Linked DNA regions of Homo sapiens: region 1 is linked to region 2. Evidence: promoter capture Hi-C in human tissues and cell types (Jung and others, 2019). All regions are on one chromosome and are shown on one strand. Each heading gives the region's core, a stretch centred on a gene start or on the middle of the fragment in contact. The rest is flanking DNA. Distances are from core to core; before and after follow the strand shown.

Region 1 (3,824 bases), core at 390-2,889, 41 kb after region 2:
TATACAAGCCATACCCTTAGTCAGTGGTTTGGTTTACGTAGAAAGCGGTCAGAGAAAATTAATCACATTTTTTAGATCATCTACTTTTCATAAAATACATGTGGATTTTGTCAACTCTAAAAATCACCAATTAATTTTGCACAGTTATTTTAACAAATTGTAGACTAACTAATCCACAGTTTTCCCAAAATGTTGTGACATTTTAAACATTTAGAAAACTTTAGAATATATTACCATTATTTTGATTTGAAATAATCTATTTTATGTGCATCAACATATTCAATTAACAATACTTATTTACAACATCTGTTGTTTTAAAAGTGGGAAAAATTTCCAAGAAGTTTAGGAGGTAGTTTTTGCCCTGAAATACTACATCAGGAGACAGAGTATAGTGATATAAATAATCCAGAGGAACAGACACTGTATTTGGACCAAGGGACACTACAAAGAAGCATGCTGAGCTTTAGGGGGTGAGGGATGCTGGCAGAACTCAGATTGGTGGTGAGGTGTATTTTATTGATCGTCAGCAGATAAAGGAGAGTAGAAAGGATAAGCCAGCTCATTATTATGAATATCATGAGTTGGTTTGTAATGTTTATGGTCTAGCTTAAGAATCATTCTAGAATTGCTATCTAATTTATAAACAATTACCATATTATTGGAATTGTTATTACTTCTCCATTTACTCCGTCACTTCCCCAGCACATCTGGCACATATTTCCTAACACATAGCCAGGTGCTCAAGAAATGCCTGCTGATTGATTTCATTCCTCATATAACTGAGATATAGACATGGTTGCTGGTGATAGCAATATATGAAAAAACTACACATTTCCATTGGTGAAATTTTGTTATTAAAAGGTTTTTTTCTGGTACTTCAATATTTTATTTATTTTATAATCTTTTTTTTCCATTTATATCGCAATGTGAGTGGGCCAGCACTTCTTTTTAGAATGGAAAAAATCAGCTTCAAAAATAAACAACTGCTTTAAACAACTTTCCTCAACATTTAGTTATATTTTCCACCAAGTTCTCATCCCTAAGCTACTGAGTAAGATTATTCATTCCTTCTGGTGTATTTGACTAAGCTGCCAATTTTCCCTTTTGCTATTTTGAGGAGCTAATTTTCCCACAACATAATATACATCGCTAAATCTCCAGCTTTTTGCTCAGCCTCAGATGATTTAGAAGTTTCAAGAAACATCAGTTTGGGTATGACTTATTTTATTTCACTTAAATGAATTAGAGGATATTATGTATGAAAAATGTCTTTGGAAAAAGAAAATTTTTATGTATTTTGATCAATTTTGCAACAGTTTTAGAAAGAGGACACTTTTCACTCAGATTGTATGGCATGGCATGCTTTTCTTAATATTTTCTAGTATTTCAGATGTTACAGGATTTTTTTAGCTTCCTAGATTCTTTACTTGACTAATACATCATGTACTTTCCCAAACTGTCTTTTGCTGCCACGATGAATAATCCTGAATTTTTAACTTCTTAGTTGTTCTGTAAGACTATATTCCTTCTCCCTCAGTCTATAGCTCTTGAATTTGAGTTCAATTTTTATAACTCTGATATCTTCATATCGATGACCAGTATGGAGATTTCTTTATACTCTCTAGTCTCACCAATCCCAAACAATGTAGGCCACTAAATTTTTCTTCTCTCTCAGACTCTCTGTCTCTCTTTTGAGGGTGGGTTGGCTAAAACAAGCTTTTAAAAAATAAATACTTTTAATTGCTTTTTGTTGTCTAATTGCAAACAGTTTTAGGCTTCCTAGTGAGAGAGAAGGCCATTCTTAGGGGATTCACAGAAGCAGTAGTCATGTGGGCACTCTATTTTTGCCTCCCTGAAAAGTTTTTCTAAGTACAGTCAGTTTAATGTGGATATCAAGATACCGCTTGAAAATTATATATATATGTACACACACACACACACACACGTACACACATATATATACACACATATATATACACATACATATACACACACACACATATATATATATAACAAATTTCCTAGTATTTTATTATACATATTAATATTAGGAAAACGGAAGAGCTATAGAGGAAGAAGAAGCCCCACCGTTTAGCACATCTGCACTTTCTCTTTGTCTAGGTCCCTGGCACTTGGAGATTGGGATTGACATCTCCAAAGAGAATTTGGCAAAGAGTGGCAAGGACTCTGTATTCAAAAAGCAGAAAGTCAACTCTTTAATTACAAAGTGGGAATATTACTATCTCCAGCGTAACAAGCTATGAGGACATATGGGTTTAGTTTATTGGGCAGATTTATTTGAAAAGTGTTTTGAAGAGTATGAACTTGAAGACCAATATTTAGTGGCCTGGCACCCAATATTTGTTGATTGAGTCAATGAATGAAAGACTGTATGAATACAATGTAGTCTTTGTAAAATATTAATTATAAATACATAGTATATATTTAATAATATATAAAATATTATTAATATTAACTGGTTAGATAACATAATAACAGTAAAAAGTCCCACAAACCCATTCAACATTGTTAATTAGCTTTTTGAGGGTCACATATAGGTTTTGGATAACTGAAGGAAATCTGTGTAACTCTTCTCTTAACCACAAACGACCTAATTTCTTTGGAACTCACCCATATGAAGCAAGTGCTATTCCTGTATTCCACTGGCTTTTCCTCTGAGCCTTAGTTTTATTATGCCGGTTGTCTCTGTCTCCCAGTGCAGATAGGTATGAGATAGAAAGTAAGAGTCATGCTCAACTCTGCTGGTCAGGGATACCTGGGGCCCCAGTATAGGTTTTCTGGCTATGAGTGAAGGAAGGAATCTAATACTCGCCTGCTCTAATAATAATCAGATACTCTTCTGAGGGCTAGCTTGGCTGGAAGAGCTCTGATAAGGATATCTTGCTTTGAAGGAGTAAAAACGAGATTTTCTTGGAGCTTGAAGCTTCTTGCTTCCCTGGAGAGTAAGCAAGAGCTGGACAAGCATATAGTAATTTATTTATTTATTTATTTATTTATTTATTTTCTTAGAGAATATCATTAGCTTAAAAAAACGTGGGAGGGCAATGATAAGTGGAAGCCTGGGTTAGGCACTTAACTTTCACATGCTGCTTCTTCCATGAAGAAATGAGCCTGAGATTTGTTTTGAGAAAAGCTAAATTTTATTAGGTTGAGCCATTAGAAAATGCCATTTTGCTAGAGAAAAATGGCTTTTAAAGAGGTGGAAAATGGTCTTTTGAAGTAAAGGTGAGGCCCAGCTCTGACATAAAATTGCCTTATTAGTCGCTTCTTTTTAACAGCAAAAGAGATAATTAATAAGAATTTGTCATGAATGATGATAGTGATTTGCATTTTTAAATTCGTTAGGTTATTTGTTTTGAAGACAGAGATTTAGGCTGAGCTGAGAGTATCAAAACCTTGGAGCCGTACTTTGTGTGCCTGGGCCTAATGGGGGCACATCCTCTCTGGGCATCCTAATGGTCTCAGTAGGATCGTTTTGTTAGCTTGTTTGCTTTGCTTTATTTTGACTTGAAGCAGTTTATGCTTGTATAGATTCTGAGCTTCAACAGGCACTCTCTCTTGTGCTTAGCTCACCATCACTGCTTCTGCAAGCAAGAAACCCACTGTGCTAAAGCCTTAGCTGATCCTGAAAAATGTTAACATGCTTTCTGCCTAATGTTTGCCAACGGGCTGATCTAAAAATGGCACCAAGGAGGTTACCTGTTATACATAGAACAAGAATACATTTTGGGACTGAAATAGATCATGGTCAATGGGGACCTGATCTGCTGACAGAAAGTTATTTTAGCATCCCCAACAATTCA
Region 2 (3,754 bases), core at 1,045-3,544:
TACTCTGAAAGAATGTTCTTTTAATTTGAATATAATAGTTTCACAGATTTTAAGTTTGAATTTTAAAGATACGATATGTAACTGTTTCCCCAAAGCCATTATTTTGGTTTCTTAATTTTTTGATATGTGTATTTTTAAAATGAAAATTGCAAGGGAAAGTGGTTTAGAAAATACAAATTTAGGTTTTAGAAAGTATAGGAAAAGGCTTACAAATGTAAGGCGGTGGCTTACATCTGTCATACCAGCACTTTGGGAGACAGAGGCAGGAGGATCACTTGAGACCAGGAGTTTGAGGGTAGCCTGGTGACATCGCAGAGCCCCCACATCTCTACAAAAATATAAAAATATATTAACAGAGCATGGTGACACATACCTGTACTTCCAACTACTTAGAAGGCTGAGGTAGAAGGATTGCTTGAGCCCAAAAGGTAGAGGCTGCAGTCACTATGATGGTACCACTGCTCTCCAGCCTGGGCAACAGAGCTAAATTCTCTTTTTAAAAAGGTAGGAAAGTATTAAGATTAGAGAAATAATATAATATGTGGAGAATCTGTGGTGACTAATGCTTTCATGGCATATTTGGAGGATACACTAGTTCTTCCGCTATTTTTCCCAAACGAGAGAGCTTGATAGTCATCCACATTTATAAGATGGATCTGAGAACAAGCAATTCATTGCTTTGTTTAATTGTTCATTCAATAAATATTTATTGACATTCTATGTGCCATGCACTGTAACAGCAGATAAAATAAACACAGATGAGCAAAAATTACCTAGCCCAGGCCCTCAGAGAGACCACAGTCTATGAGAAAAGAATGATAGAGATGGGATTAGGATGAAGTTAACAAATTCCATGAAGAAAGCAGTACAGAATACAGAGCACGGAGCTCTAGCTACTGCCCACGATGAGCACTTTGGGCTTTCCCTTAGAAAGAAAACTTGAATCCAGACGTTTAAAACACACAAAAAAACCAAAACCCCTGTCTAATACAATGCGTTCCCTCTTCATACCCGTCCACTAGTCATCTCAATTTGAACAAATCATCAGAGTTCCGACTAGAACCTAATTGGTGTTTGGTTCCAAGGTATGGGAATTACTTAGCTCATTGATCCATCATATGAAAATTTCCACATGCATCATTACTAATTTGAAAGACGCTTTTCCCCCTTGGAGCCAATAATTAATGTTTCCAAAGATCTATTGGGAATGCTTATCTTTGCTCAGTAAAACAGTAAAGATATGGAGCTTAGTGTTCCCTTTCATGTCACAAGGGAACTAATATTTGTCCCCCTCCATTTTAATTTATGTATCCTTTCTCTCCATACCCCACCTTCTGCCTCTCTCTCTCTCTCTCTCTCTGTCTCTCTCTGTCTCTCTCTCTCTCTCTCTCACACACACACACACACACACATTTTCTCTTTCCCCCCCCACTCTCTCTCCAGCCGTCCTTTCCCCCTACCTAAAGCAGTCAACCTCTGGAAGTAAGTCAACTCCATTCTGAAAAAGAAGAGTGTCGCAAGAAGTGAAAGTGATTTTGACCAGAGGTCGCTTGTCTCCACCTCTCCCCTCCTCTCCAGAAAAGGATGGAGCAGCAAAGCGGAGGGTGTGCGCGTGTCTGGTGGAGGCGGGTAAAGAAATGGGGTGTCTTTAAAGCAATAGCTTAGCAAATACTGGGACTAGAGTGCGGCTCGAGTCCACTTCCCAATAGTTTGGCGAGAGTCCGCCGGGTGAGCTGCAACCCCTGTTACCAGGAAGAATCTTTCTGCTTTCATTGCTCTCCCTACCGCCCCCCATAACACCTGAATGGGAGGGTCTCAAAGGTGGTTTGAGCCCGGACTTGATCCCCTCTCCTCACCACCGCTACCACCCGACGCCCAGCAGTCCCCGTCACCCGCCCTTTCTCCACCTCCAACCTTGACTCTGGGTACAAACAGGTCCTCGCACAACCTGATGACAGAGGAGCTTCATTGGTTAGATCCAAATCCCAGCGGAAGGGAGGGGGCCAGGAGGTAGGAGGACGAACACTGCTGTGGGCGGGGAGCCCACTTGGGGTCGGGGGCTGCGAAGCCGGAGGAGGGGCGAGAGACCCCGTTCCTCATCCCCGGAGTTACAGTCGGAACAAACTTGCCGAGTCTTGCAGCGCAAGCGCGCGGATACGAACCCCAGAACCTTCAGCGCGCGGGCACGAAAGGGTGTGGAGCGGTATACATAGCTCTACATACACATTGAGCGCTGAGCGAGAAAGGAGGGGGCGAGGAAGGCAGGTTCCGCCTCCCCTGGCCCCGTGCACACACACGCCCACCGCGGCTCGGGCTGGCTGAGCGCGGGCGAGTGTGAGCGCGAGTGTGCGCACGCCGCGGGAGCCTCTCTGCCCTCTCCTCGCACCCTGCTCAGGGCATCTGAAGAGCCTGGAAACGTGAACAGGCTTGAAGTATGGCATGTTGCAAAGATGGTTTCTGCCAAGAAGGTACCCGCGATCGCTCTGTCCGCCGGGGTCAGTTTCGCCCTCCTGCGCTTCCTGTGCCTGGCGGTTTGGTGAGTTCTCTGGGGTGCGAGGAGGTGGGCAACGGAAAGTGGAGAAATGGCTAGCTCCGGGACCCCTTTGGCCACTCGCTCCTCCCTGGGTGGACTAGGTCTTCTTATCTCAGCTGTAAGAGCAGGGGCCGAAGCCAGGCTTTTCTGTGACCGCATAGATGCGGAGAGCACCAAGGGCGCAGGATCCAAGAGGCGTGTGGGCACTGGGGGTCTTGCGGCGGGGCGCGCTTTTCCTGACCATTTCTGTCTTCTGCATCCCAACCCCCAACCTCCTCTCCTTTAGCTTGGGGCAAGCGACTCTTTCCCTAGAAAACAAACCTGTTTGCACCTGTTCTCTGATGGATTCTTAAAATAATCTCCTCCGCCCCCGGTTTTTTTTTTTTCGCTTGCAGTTTAAACGAATCCCCAGGACAGAACCAAAAGGAGGAGAAATTGTGCACAGAAAATTTCACCCGCATCCTGGACAGTTTGCTCGATGGTTATGACAACAGGCTGCGTCCTGGATTTGGGGGTATGAACGATTTCAAACGCGCAAGTGTGTCCTGTCTGTCCCTCTCTTGGTCTTCCTGTCTGTCTGTCTGTGGGAATATCATTAGGTATGCCTCACGTGCAAAAATAAATCTCTCTCTCTTTCTATCTCTCCTCTCTTGGTGAGACCTATGACAAGAAGACCGCCTCCACCCGTACTTTCCCATCTCCCTGCCCCCTCAGAAGCTTTGCCTCTCCCCCACACTAATTACCTCCCGGGACCTGACTGCTGGGTGGGGGAGGTTGGAGAGGAAGAGTCAAAAATGGGAACTCTGGGCTCAGCTGCCTGGACGCTCTTCGCTGAGAATAGTTTCCCTGAACCTGGCCACTTCGCTCAGAGCAGGTTGCATTGGAGGCAGCTGAACCGAAGTCCCTCATCCTCCCACGTGTCCATGCCTATGCCAAAACCTTGGCCAATGTTCTACCTGGGACATAAATCTGGGGCATGAAGCTGCCTGCTCTGCTAGAGAACCCAGTCCTTTCCTTTTCTCTTCTACAGCAGGATGCTTTTCTTTTTTCCCTTTCTTTTTTGGTGATGTGTCATTTGCTTTCCTCCTAAGACTTTAAAGTTAGAGATGTTCCAGCTTGCTTTCTTCAACAAAATAAGTATAAAGGACTTAATAGAGGTACATCCATTAACAGCACTGTTGCTGTTTTTCATATTCATATTTCCTTTGCATATATAATGGA

What was found. The method cuts DNA at HindIII sites, captures the fragments that hold promoters and counts their contacts. A contact is called where the count stands out against the background at its distance.
Region 1: a fragment that was not itself captured here is called in contact with the fragment with the promoter of GABRA4 in region 2 in 1 of the 25 tissues and cell types used here (heart right ventricle).

The regions. Positions count from the first base shown.
Region 1 is chr4:46,949,917-46,953,740 of GRCh38, reverse strand. The region is part of intron 8 of GABRA4 (gamma-aminobutyric acid type A receptor subunit alpha4); the gene reads left to right. Among named protein-coding and RNA genes, the nearest start is that of GABRA4, 42 kb to the left of the region's middle. The HindIII fragment of the contact is 4,295 bases long and covers 1-3,786 here.
Region 2 is chr4:46,992,121-46,995,874 of GRCh38, reverse strand. It overlaps GABRA4 (gamma-aminobutyric acid type A receptor subunit alpha4), which reads left to right and starts at 2,294. Exons shown (of 9, transcript NM_000809.4): 1 at 2,294-2,536; 2 at 2,929-3,047. The coding sequence starts at 2,451. It also overlaps a transcript of GABRB1 not described here. RefSeq lists an enhancer at 1,838-1,907 and a silencer at 2,069-2,363. The HindIII fragment of the contact is 6,154 bases long and covers 1-3,510 here.